2 separate regions of the Homo sapiens genome follow, and region 1 is linked to region 2. The links are contacts of gene promoters, found by promoter capture Hi-C in human tissues and cell types (Jung and others, 2019). All regions are on one chromosome and are shown on one strand. The core of a region is centred on a gene start or on the middle of the fragment in contact, and the rest is flanking DNA. Distances in the headings are between cores, read along the strand shown. Region 1 overlaps ATG7 (autophagy related 7). Region 2 holds the start of SLC6A1 (solute carrier family 6 member 1).

Region 1 (6,489 bases), core at 3,260-5,759, 350 kb before region 2:
CTCGCTTTGGTAACAGAAATGGAAGACATTGCACTGTACCACTGTTGAGCTAAGACTTTAAGGCATAATAATCACCAACCCTTTTAAGCTTAAACCTTCCACCATAGGAAGAGTAGGACCCACATGACTGTTCCTCCTTTAGCCTAGATTTTGAAAATAACACATACAATGGACTGGAACCTGACTCGAAGTTATGTGGCTTATTGAGTAAGTTCAGCCTAGTGACACAGCTGAACCACAGCCAACCTGCACACCCATGAACATGAAATAAATGTTTGCAATTGTAAGCCACTGAGATTTTGGGATTGTGTGATATGCAATATTGTCACAGCAGAAATCTAACTAATATGCCTCCTCAATGACAGGGTTGCAACGTATTCTTATTTTTTTCAGCATTTAGCACATAGCTGGCTACACAGTGGGTGGTCAATTAATACTGTTAAACCCAAGATGATGTTCCTCAGGGACTCTAGTGAAATGGACAAAAACATTAACAATGCTTCTAAAGCAAAGATTTTTAAAATGGATGAATCTAATACAAAGTGACTAAAGAGAGAAACTTTGAGAAAGTGGGTTTTTTTGTTTGTTTTGTTAGGACTGAGAACCTCTTCTGGCACTTTAAGTATAAGCAAATGCTCTGGAGACACCTAATCTAACTCCTGTCAGATAAAATGATTAAGTTTTCAAGAGGCAGGATATCATTTGCTGGTTGACCTTAAAAAAAGAAAACTGTCAAGATTTTAAATGAAAGGAGCTGAATGACTTTTCTCTTGTTATCTGGTATTTCTAATGATATAACTCAAAAACCAGAAGCAGCTAGAGCAAAAAGCTAAACTTTCAGCCCAATCTTTCTTCTTCATGAAGACTTGCATTCAATTTAATTTCATAAACCTGTACTAAGTAACCACCAAGTATCCTGGTGATGGAGGAAAAATAACACATTAGATCTGAGCCACTGTAAACCTCTTTGGAACCAGGCAGGATATAAAAATATATACACTCCTAAATTCCTCAACTTAAACTCATAATGCTGTGCAACTTACAAAACATTTATTCATACATTCCTTTCGTTTTCACAAGAATATGTGAGATGGATTATTTATTATTATTATTATTATATAGACAGTGTTTTGCCTTGTCACCGAGGCTTGAGTGAAATGGCATGATCACAGCTCAAAATCTGCAGCCTTGACCACCTAGGCTCAAGCAATCCTTTTGTTTCAGCCACTAGTGTAGCTGGGACTACAGATGCACACCACCACCACACCTGGCTAATTTTATTTTAAAGAGATAGGGTCTCACTATGTCTCCCAGGCTGGTCCCAAACTCCTGGGCTCAAGTAAGCCTCCTGCCTTAGCCTCCCAAAGTGCTAGTGAGAGGTGAAACCAGCTGGACTTCCTGGGTTGAGTGGGGACTTGGGAGAACTTTTCTGTCTAGCTAGAGGATTGTAAATGCACCAGTCAGCACTCTGTAGAAACGCACCAATCAGCGCTGTGTGTCTAGCTAAAGGATTGTAAATGCACCAATCAGCACTCTGTAAAAACACACCAATCAGCACTCTGTGTCTAGCTAGAGGACTGTAAACGCACCAATCAGCACTCTGTAAAAACACACCAATCAGCGCTCTGTGTCTAGCTAGAGGATTGTAAACACACCAATCAGCACTCTGTAAAAACTCACCAGTCAGCACTGTGTCTAGCTGGAGGATTGTAAACGCACCAATCAGCACTCTGTAAAAACATACCAATCAGCGCTCTATGTCTAGCTAAAGGATTGTAAATGCACCAGTCAGAACTCTGTAAAAAGGCATCAGTCAGCGCTCTGTGTCTAGCTAAAGGTTTGTAAACGCACCAATCAACACTCTGTAAAACTGACCAATCAGCACCCTGTAAGATGGACCAATCAGTAGGACGTGGGTGGGGACAAATCAGGGAATAAAAACTGGCCACCCCAGCCAGCAGCAGCAACCCACTTGGGTCCCCTTCCACGCTGTGGAAGCTTTGTTCTTTTGTTCTTCACAATAAATCTTGCTGCTGCTCACTCTTTGGGTCCACACCACCTTTAAGAGCTGTAACATGCGAACGTCCGTGGCTTCATTCTTAAAGTCAGCGAGACTATGAACCCACCAAACTCCAGACACATCTGAAGGAACAAACTCCAGACACATCATCTTTAAGAGCTGTAACACTCACTGCGAAGGTCTGCAGCTTCATTCTTGAAGTCAGCAAGACCAAGAACCCACCGGAAGGAACCCCACGAACCCACTGGAAGGAAGAAACTCCAGACACATCTGAAGGAACAAACTCTGGACACATCATCTTTAAGAGCTGTAACACTCACTGCGAAGGTCCGCGGCTTCATTCTTGAAGTCAGCAAGACCAAGAACGCACTGAAGGAACCAACTCCAGACACACTGGGATTGCAGGTATGAGCCACCATGCCTGACCTGGTTGTGTTTTTTTATCCCTCTCTGAGATGAGGAAACAGAGGTTCAGCCACATAGCGAGTGGCTGGTAGAAAGTGACAGATATCTGACTCTCTTTCTTCAATGCCACAGGCCTCATTTCCCAAGACTTAAACATTTATACATATAACAGAAAACCTCTGCAAAAGCAACAACATACCACACCGGGGAATATTTTCTGGAGCCGGTCCGCTGCTGCCAGAGCCTTGGGCTTACCACCCCCTAGGCAATCTTCAAACTCATAGAGAGGCTGCCTCACAGGATTGGAGTAGGAGATCTTGGCATTGTCCACAAATGTGATGTGTCTCACGCCCCAACCCTGTGTGGAAACAGGAGATCATGGTGTGTTTCTGATGAACATTTCACAGGGTGCTGTCTCTTGAAATCTCAAAAAGAATATTGGTTTGGAGAAGCTTGGGAACCTCAAAACACAAGAAACTTCAGAAACTGAATTGTGCAAATTCAGGTTACGATAAACAGAATGTTGACTTTCCTTAGAAAACAACATAATTATATACTCAGTGCCTGGTTTCCTGTAATAAGACTAAAAAATGTCAAGTGGAACAGACTAATAATTATTTTTGACAGTGTCACCAAAGATTTGGAGGTGAATCCCATAAGAATTGTCTATGTTGTTGTTTTAAAAAGATTAGCAATAGCCCCTAAATGTCCTTGATTTCCCTTAACGAATAATTAAGTATAAATAACAACTACTCTTGAAGCTCATTTAAAGCCTGAATGAACTCCTCCAAAAAATGACTCACAAATTATTTCCCACTGTATGATATTTTAGAACATTTTGTACCATTTCTTCAAGAGGCAAAGCCTTATTAATAATCTGGAATTTAGGGAACAAGTCTATATTCTTAGAAATAGTTTTCACGGTTTTATAGACTTCAATTATGTCTCCTATAACAGTTTTATAAAACCATACGATTTTAAAGGTAGATGGGATCTCTAAAATCCTTGGTCCAATTACTTTGTTTTACAGATATGGAAACTGATGCCCAGGAAAGATAAGTGATTTGCCTAAGAGATACATCTGGTTAATGGTGGGAATGAATGAGCTCTCCAGAGGTGCAACCAAATGAAGTTGCCTACTTCTTGGGGTAGGGTACAGTGGGTATATTTTAGTAGATCATAAGTAAGCATACTGACCTAAGAGATGTCCTGCCATGACTGGCTACAAGGCTAAGATTCTGCTCTCTCTTATTTCAATATCTTTCCATTAGAAACTGAGAGACTCAATTAGATTGAAGGTTTCAGAGATCCAGCCAACAAGGACCCAAGATTTGTTTTCTGTGTCGAGAACGACAGGCCAGAATCTGCCTTTCATAAGCATAGGTTAGACTGACTGTTTTGAAGCCCACTGGTAACCTTTTGGTCTACCCACCCAGTTTTGTAAATTATTTTCATCATCTAAGCAACCTACCATGGAGGCAGAATAAAGTCACTTGTGCTTGCTTTGGGAATGTTTATTTCTGAAGTATTTTTGCATTCCTTAAAGCAACTGATGAGTGGATAGCAAGGAAGGCACTCTGGGAACGTGCTGGGTAGTGGGAAGAAAGCCAGATACATTACAAACATGCCATAGGTTAGTCACATGCAGGTGTATTTGCACACACTTAACTTTTGGTTTCCTGGAATGCTACACAGTTTAAATGGCTAATCTGCAAAGATTAAAGAAAATCACAATACTCAATGCTGGTGAGGATGTGGTAGGGAGAAAATCATCCTACTGATTGAGAATGTTAAAGTGGTCTAATCTTCCTGGAAAGCAATTTGGCAGTATGTTTCTAGAATCTTAAGAATACCCATATCCTATGACCTATTTCCAGCAATTTATCCTAAGAAATAATCTGACATACTGACCAAGATGCAGTCACAAAGATGTTCTTTGCAGCACAATTTACAATTGTAAAAAACTGGAAACAATGTTAATGCTGAACATTAGGAGAAGGGTTCAGTAAGTTATGTTTCATCCTATCAGAAGGCATATTCTACAGTCATAAAGCTTTAGCAGACATTGCAGTGAACTCATGCAGTCCTGACTACTCGGGAGGCCAAGGTGGGAACATCACAAGGTCCAGTCCAGCCTGGGCAACAAAGCCAGAACCTGTCCCAAAAAATAAAAAGGCCTCATAGACAGGCATCATTTTTAATGACATGTTAATTGGTAAGAGCAAAGGACATTATTATATATCTAATAAAATGTTAAAATACACATTAAACACTGAAATGTGACAAGTGAAAAAGCGGTAGGAAAATGAGTGTCTTCTTTCCTGCTTTATGACTTTTATATTTTCTATAATGGCTTTATGTTGACTTTGAAATTTTGAAAAATGTTAGGAAAATCTAAGCATCTAAAAATTCTAGAACCTAGAAAAAGACAGTAAAATAAATTCCACAGAAGGAGGAAAAAATTAATAAAGATAAAAGTAGATATTTACGAATCTGAAAGCAAAATGAGACAGAAACAAAAATTATAGAATAAATAAAGTAATGCTCCAAAAAAACTGATAGACAAGCCTCTCTAGCAAGGCTTAATATGAGGAAAAAAGAGAAAACACAAATATACAACATTAGGAATATGAAAAGATTTTTTAAAAGATAAAAGGAAGATTTAAAAGAGAATACCATATGTATTTTATGTCAATTAATTTTTAAAGCTAGAAAAGCAGTACAAAATCTAAAAAGGTGAGTCAACACAGAAACATCTGTAAAAGTTTACAAAGATTCCCACCACCCTTACTACCCCAACCAACAAAATTCTTTTATTTTATTTTTGAGACAGAGTCCTGCTCTGTCACCCAGGCTGGAGTGCAGTGGCGCTATCTCCGCTCACTGCAAGCTCCACCTCCTGGGTTCACGCCATTCTCCTGCCTCAGCCTCCCGAGTAGCTGGGACCACAGGCGCCTGCCACCATGCCCGGCTAATTTTTTTTTGTATTTTTAGTAGAGACGGGGTTTCAACCGTGTTCTCCAGGATGGTCTCGATCTCCTGACCTCATGATCCGCCCGCCTCGGCCTCCCAAAGTGCTGGGATTACAGGCGTGAGCCACCGTGCCCGGCCCAACAAAATTCTTAAATGCATCAGGCCCAGACGGATTTATAACTGAATTTTACCTAACCATCAAAGAACAGATAATTCATTTATTTAAATTGTTCTGGAACTTAGAAAAAGGCAGAACGTTTTAAGTTTATTTTATAAAGCTAGCATAATGTAGCTATAAAATATACAAAGATAGAACAAGGAATAACATGACTATAAACCAATTTGACTTATGAAGTGAGATGTAAAATTTATTGGTTAATTGATCGGTTGATTGAGACAGTGTCTTGCTTTATCACGCAGGCTGGAGAGCAGTGGCACGATCTTGGCTCACTACAGCCTCAACCTCCTGGTCTGAGGCAATCCTTCCACCTCAGCTCCCGAGCAGCTGCAACTACAGGCACGCGCCACTACAGCCTGGCTAATTTTTATATTTTTTTTGTAGAGATGGAGTTTCGCCACGTTGTGCAGGCTGGTCTCGAACTCCTGAGCTCAAACGATCCGCCCACCTTGGCCTCCCAAACTGCTGGGATTGCAGGTGTGAGCCACCGTGCCCGGCCAAAATGTAACATTTAAAAACAAAACATTACTAATTGAATTCAAGAGTATATGAGAAGAATAAGATACCACGTACAAATAGGGTTTATTCTAGGAATGCTCAACATTAGAATACTTTGTCTTGATAAACGTAGTTGATAAAGCTCGACATTTCTGATATAAACGTGCAGAAACAGAAATCAGCTTCTTTAAATTATAAAGAACACTTACCAGAAACCAACATCAAAATTAAAGATAAAAACAAGAGGCACTCTCATTAAAGTCAGCAATAAAACAAAGATATCAACTCTCACTGCCATTCTTCTACATTACTGTGGAGTTCTAGCCAATCTTATAAGACAAGGAAAAGGAAGATATAAGTGTTGGTGAGGAATACTATTAAGCTACAAAAGAATCAAAAAACTCTTAGAACTAAG
Region 2 (6,426 bases), core at 2,539-5,038:
GCAGTAACTGACAGTTATTACTGTTTTTGATACAATTGCATTGGAACAATATTTAGTGTTTTCTTTCTTTTCTGTTTATGACTGAATTCCAGGTCTCTGCTGAAATATCACAGCTTGCATTCACACCTACTGCCTATGCCAGGCAACTCTCCTGTCTGCTACTGGCCCACTTCCCACTGACTCCATAGCCCCTTCCCCTGACCCCAGAGGTCTTAGGTGAGCATGGAGTAGATGAAGATGCTGGATGTTAATATGCTCACTGAGACCCATTTCCTGGGAAGTCCTATTTTGGGGTGCACATCTGGCCTCCCAATCTTTTCTTTTTCAAGCACCAACCTCTTCCCCTCCATCTCCCAGTGCCCTTCAGAGAATGGGGTAAAGTTGGCAAGAAGAGCCACCCGTGCAGGGCCTGTCTGAGAAGCCAGCATCGAGGCATGCCAAGCCACAGAGCAGTGGACACAGGATGATCTTTTCACCTTGTGGGGGAAGTGCCCAATGCTCTTGGCAACTGAAGTCAATTCGAGGTTGCTGTCATTCAGCGGGGCTATACCCTGCCCACCATTCTCCAGGCACAGAGAAGCTCAGGCGACGTTGCATGGGTGAATTGAAGGGGTAGTCCCGACACAGGCATAGACAGGCCTGCTGACGCTTGCATTTTAGTTTTCATTTGGGCAGAGAGGGGATGAAGTGGCTCTAACTGGGTTTGGCATTGGGGCTGTGGCTGAGGAGAGGGGCTGCTGGGGCGGGGGTGGTAGTCAAGGGGAAGGTGGGCACATTTTGGGCTAGGCAACAGGGATGGGCTTCTAAGGACAAAGGAGATGGACTTCAGGATGCAGGTGGCTAAAGGTGGTGGCAAGGCTGAATCAACGGTCATTAACACTCTGCCTGAGACCCATAGACAAGCAAGAGGGTGGAAAAGACATCTCCAAATTCCAAGTAGCATGGAACTCTATCTCAGCTGCTGAGCTCACAGCCAAGCCAAGGAATGGAGTCTTTGTGTGATGGCAAGAAGTGGCCTGATATTGGTGCTTTATTTATTTCATGGTGCTCTCCACATGTCATATGCCACCAAGGTAGAGGACCAGCCACTGCTCCCATGGCAGGCCCACGGGAACTACCACCCCATCACTTCACTTTACAGATGGAAAAACCGAGGCCCAGAGACCCACAATAGGACAGAGTTGGCCTGGAAATTAGAACAGTAGGGTTAAGATCCCTGCCCTTCCTCCTCCTGGCTATGTGACCTTTGACAAGTCACTTCCCCTCTCTGCATCCAGTTTCATCGCCTCTGAAGTGGGGATTAGAATAGTGCCTGCTCCACACGGTTCTTGTAGGAATAATCCCTGGCACATTGGAAGCTTTGGGTACTCCATTCCTTCCTTCCAACAGGAACAAGAACGTACCCAAGGTCACCTGGCCAGAAATGGCAATGCCCCAGCTCAAAGCAAACCCTCATCTGGGGCTCGTTCATTCCCGGCTATGGACTAAGGGGCCACATTTTATAGCCTTCCTGGCTCAGTGAGACAGGTACAGATTGCAGGTAGGTCCATGCCAGTGATAGCATCACCTTCCATCCATGCAGGCTTTATTCTAAGAGGTTTATTGAGGTCCTGCTGTGTGCTGGGCCACGTGTAAAAAAATTTATAGCCTCTGCTGCTCCGGGGTCACCAGGCATGTAAAATCCGTGGCAGGCAGGAGAGACGTGGCCACTGTGCATCTTTTGGCTTCGATGGACTTGATTTTGCCTCATCTTTACCCTCTAAGCTACCTACTCCTTGGTCTCCAGACATCCTTCCCAGCCCCATCTAAGTTCCTGGAGACCCACTTCTCATCAAGCCTCCAGACCTGAAATAAAGTGTCCCACATCAGGACAGAGGGTCCCTGATTTTACCTCCAGAGTGGCTGCCTCTCTCCTGTGTGTTCCTAGGGGAACCCCACTTTCCAGATGCTCTGCCAGACAGGCCGGGCTGCGTCTCTCTGCTTGGGACTCACTGTTTGTCCTCCAAGGACTGGCCACTGAGCCAGTGCTTGGCTGGAGACAGAGCTCTTTCTTTGTTTGCTGCCTGCCTGACGATTTATTTCTGAGGCTCAAGGGAGGCTCAGCCATTTTGCCAGGGCTGCTCTGGGAAAAGGTCTGTCCCACTCCCCCAGGGACTCCCACTTCTAAGGGCAAGTTCTTTTTCCCCTTCTCTGCCTTGGAGAGGGTCTGTCCTGCCCCAATCAGACCCTGATCTGGAGCTGGGTCAGTCCTTCCCAATGTGCTCCAAAGATAAAGAGATAACATGCAAAATGCGAGTAGCTTTCACTGACCTCTTTTGTTTTGGAATTTGGGGGACTGGGGTAGCAGCCTTTTTGGCTCCCTTAGGAGGACACTTCCCCCAAAGTTCCCAAAGACACAGAATCTAGGCACTATCCAGCACCCAACATCCCTACTCTCTTGCCAAACACCCACCTTGTGTGTCATAGAAAAACAAAGGTAGACCCCCAATGCCACTCAGTCTGATACCGTCTCTGATTTTTGGGGTGTCACAAATCTCAGGAGCCATTTTATTCCCGCCCTCCCCGCCCCCCCAGCTCTTCATGGGGATAAGGCTGAGCTTCCTGGGAAAGGGAATGAGCGCTCCAGCCCCACATCCGGAAAGAACGTGGTGTTATCATTTGGCTTTTAAAAAATTCTCCTTGTGGTTCATGTCTATTTTGGGAGGATATTAGCTCAGAGCCTCAATAGGGGACTGCCCGGTCTGAGTTTCTTGTCTGAAGACCGAGCCAAGCCTAGAACAGGACATCTGTGGGTGCCACCCGTGGGGACGTGTGCTCAGAACCCAATGGGCACTGCCCGAGGCTACCGTGGTGAGCGGTGTCGCGCCGGGGAGTACACGCAGAGACCAAAAGCAAGAAGGGGAGCGCAGTTCCCGAAGCAGCAAGGAGGCACCGTCCTCCAGCCCTCTAAGGGACCGCCCGCACCCCACATCTCTTGGAGAAAGTCGGGGCTGGGAGAGCGCGGCGCGAGCTCTGGTGCACTAGGCTTAGCTCCGGTGCACTCAGCCCAAGCCCCGGTGTGCTTTTAAGCCAACGTTTCTGAGAGCTCGGGCTGTCCCAGAGACGTCCCATCCTCAAGTCGCACCCGACCCCGCCGTAGCCCGCAGAGAACAAATGAGGGGCATAGCTCTAACTCGGCTCAGCTGACCCCAGGATTGGGAAAGTGGCGCACGGCCCCCCAACGCTGCTCGTGTCATTCACTCCGCGTCCCCTCCATGCCCTGGGGAATGAATAGGGAGCTTCGACGGCTCCAGCAGAATCCAGTGCCAACTTGCGGGGCCAGTGGGGCACCGCGGGAGGGAAGGGGCATGCAACTCTCGCCTCTGTTCCAGCCCTCCTGCCTCCCGAGTGTCCCAGGGGACGGATGGCCTGGGCGCACGTCGGGGTCCGAGCGGCGCCTCTGCTCCTTCATGTGGCTCAGGGAAGGTGCGGCGCGGGGGCTTGAATCTCGAGGTGTCCGCCCCCCACCCGGCCCGGCTCGCGGCAGCGGCTCGGGGCTCTGGCCGTTCCTGCGCCGTTATCCCAGGCTCTGCGCCCCGCGCCCCGACGCCGGCCGCCCTTTCCTACCTGCGGCCGGGGCTGCGCTGCCCGGGACAGGCGCTGCATCCGGGCGGCTCGGCCGCTCCGATGCGCTCGGGACGCGGGGCCGCTCGGGCTCGGGCTCAGCGCTACTGCGCTCCCGACTCCTCGGCTCCTGGGCTCAGCGCAGCTCACCCGCAACCTCTCCGCTGTCTCGGTCTTCCGAGGGCGGGCGGAGGGTCGCGGGGAAGGGAGAGGAGGGGGGAGCGAGTCCGGAGGGATGGAGGGGGAGGGCAGGGCCCGCGGCGCCCGGAGCCCGCCCAGCTCGGGTATAGCCCTGCCCGCACCGCCCGCCCCCGCCCAGCGCTCCCCCAGGCCCGCCGCGCGCTCCCTCCGCAGCTGCCTCTTGCAGCTTCGCCGCCAGCAGGCTCTCTCCTTTTCCCTTCACCTCCTCTCCCCTTCTACGCCTCCCCTCTCCCTTCTTTCCTCTCGCATTCTCCCGCTCTCTTCTCCCTCCTTCTCCCCTCTCTTCCTCCCTCTTTCTCCCCTCTCTTCCTCCCTCCCTCTCCCCACCCCCTCCTTCCCTCGCCTGCCCCGCCGTCCCGCTCCAATCTCTCTCCTTCCTTCTCCTTCCTTTGATGGCTCTTTCCGGCCTCATCCTGGGTCACCAGCCTGTCTGCCTGTCCGTCTTGGTCTCTGTCTCCCTGTCTTTCACAGCAAGCACTCCCCTCCTGGCTTTTCTCCTTCCAGCCTTGCAGTACTGCTTCCGTTGGCCTGTCCTTTCCGTTTCTCTCTGCGGTCGTCCTCTTTTCGCCCTCTGTGGGTCGCTGTGGGTTGGGGTGGGCCCGTGCCCCCTCCCTGCTCTAGTCCTAGGGCAGCGTCTGCTGCCCGTTACACCTGGAAACACAGGCCTGGCCTGGGGTGACCAGGCTCTGGGTACCAGCTGGGAGTGTGTGTAAGAGTGGGGGTGGGAAGGACACCCTTCCACTGCCAGCGGTTGGTCATGGAGACACAAGTGGCTGTGTGTATGGATGGACAGATGGGGAAACAGATTACTTAAAAGGGAAACAGGGATGGTGGCAGGAGCCCCAGACACCCTTCTCTCAGTTCTTGAGGTTTGAGGGATTCTCCCAGAGAAGTCCCCTTTCCAGCCAATCCCAATCCAGCACGTAGGGACTCCTTCCCTTGTCCTTGCCAAGGCCTGACCTCCCCACCCTCTTTTATAAAGGCTTCTGGGAATGGGGCCACATCTGCCCTTCCCTCTGGGGTCCCCAGGAACTCAGAGAAAAGATTCCTTCTCTCCAGCCCAGACCTACTCTTCCCCTCCTCTCTTTGTCCCCAGGGATGGCCTTTGCTGATGGACCTCAGGTCCTCTACCCCACCTAATCTGGCCTCCTCCCTGCTTTCATCCATCCTCGAGTCCCCCAGGGCAGTGCTCACCAAGGTCACCCTGACTTCTTCTGTTTCCCCACACTCTCACTCATGAGCAGGGAATCTTGGTGTCTTTCTTGACCCATTCACCTCCCACCACTGATCACCAGGTCATATGTGCTGTGGACTTCCGTTGGTATTTCAAATAAATATTTCCCGAGTTCCACCTGTGTGCCAGGCACTGTCCTAGGCTCCAGGGACAGAGCGATGGACAAGACAGGCCACAGCTTTCAAGGTGATGCCAGTCCAGTATGGGAGACAGGCTTTCATCAAATAACCGCACAAACCCAGAATGACAAGCTCTGCCAGGAGCACACATGCAGGGGATTCTAGTCCAGCAGGGGATTCCAGTCTAGTGTGGGATGGTTTGGGAAGGTTTCCTCAAGGAAGCGCCATTTGAACTGAGGTCTGAAGGATGAGTAGGAGCTGTCTGGATGGAGATGTGGGGCATAGCTTTGAGTGGAGATACAAGGGTAGCAAAAATGAAGGCTACTTTTGCTTGCCTGACATTCATTTCAACTTCTTTGGGTGACAGAACCTCAATTTTCATTTGGGAAACTTCCCCTCCTTCACTCATATTCAATATGGTTGGGTGGGGCTCCCTCCTCCTGGAGACAGACATGTGACCCAGGGCACAGATAATCAGAGCACATCACTCTGACCTCAATGAGGGGACGTGTGACATATGCTGGGCCAATGAGAACTCTGTCTGGGACTTTTGCTAAAACTATTGTCAAACAGAAACTCAATCTCCACCAAAGCTCCTAAGCATAGAGGTGTTGGCAGCCATCTTTGCAGAACTTGAGCAGACCCGACCTAAAATGAAGCCAACATAGAGGAGAGCAGAACTGAGAGACAGAGAGTGGAGTGAGTCTTGATGTATATCAGGTCCCTGGATCCAGCCATACCTGAAGGCAGTGTCAGCTATTTATATCATTAAATTGTTTTTCCTATGCTACACAAGTTTGAATTCAGTTTATGTTGCTTAAAACCAAAATAGTCTTCATGAATCCAGTGTTGGATTGAGAATTATGAAGCATTATAAAAAGGAATAATAATAGCCATTCCCATCCCCCTTTTGTCCTTCGTGTTTTCTGGGTAACCTCATTCACAATTGTCTCTCTGTTTTTTCTACGTTGCTGACCAGAAATGAATTCCTCTCTCTTTTCATCCCTCTGGATTTGTTTTGCTTACATATGAAAGCAAACTCTAGCTATCAGGTCAATTTCATAGGCTGACCATCTGATGCTTGAATTATCTCCATGACATTCCCTGCCCCCGCTGGCATTCTCTGCCCCTGCCCTACACCCATGACTGTCCAGCGTATGTCTGCATCTCTGCAAGGATGGGGAGAGCTCATTATTCCACCAGGAAGATGGTTTCCAACAAACTCTTATCACAGTCGAGCTCTGAGAGCTGTCTCTGGTGCAGTGAGAC

What was found. Contacts are between HindIII fragments. The study calls those that stand out against the background at their distance.
Region 1: a contact is called between a fragment that was not itself captured here and the fragment with the promoter of SLC6A1 in region 2, in 1 of the 25 tissues and cell types used here (small bowel).

What each region holds. Positions count from the first base shown.
Region 1 is chr3:11,344,171-11,350,659 of GRCh38, reverse strand. ATG7 (autophagy related 7) reads right to left here. Exons shown (of 21, transcript NM_001349232.2): 14 at 2,625-2,783. Among named protein-coding and RNA genes, the nearest start is that of ATG7, 75 kb to the right of the region's middle. The HindIII fragment of the contact is 4,142 bases long and covers 2,439-6,489 here.
Region 2 is chr3:10,990,110-10,996,535 of GRCh38, reverse strand. SLC6A1 (solute carrier family 6 member 1) reads right to left here and starts at 3,788. Exons shown (of 16, transcript NM_003042.4): 1 at 3,607-3,788. RefSeq lists an enhancer at 2,944-3,468. The HindIII fragment of the contact is 17,540 bases long and covers 1-6,426 here.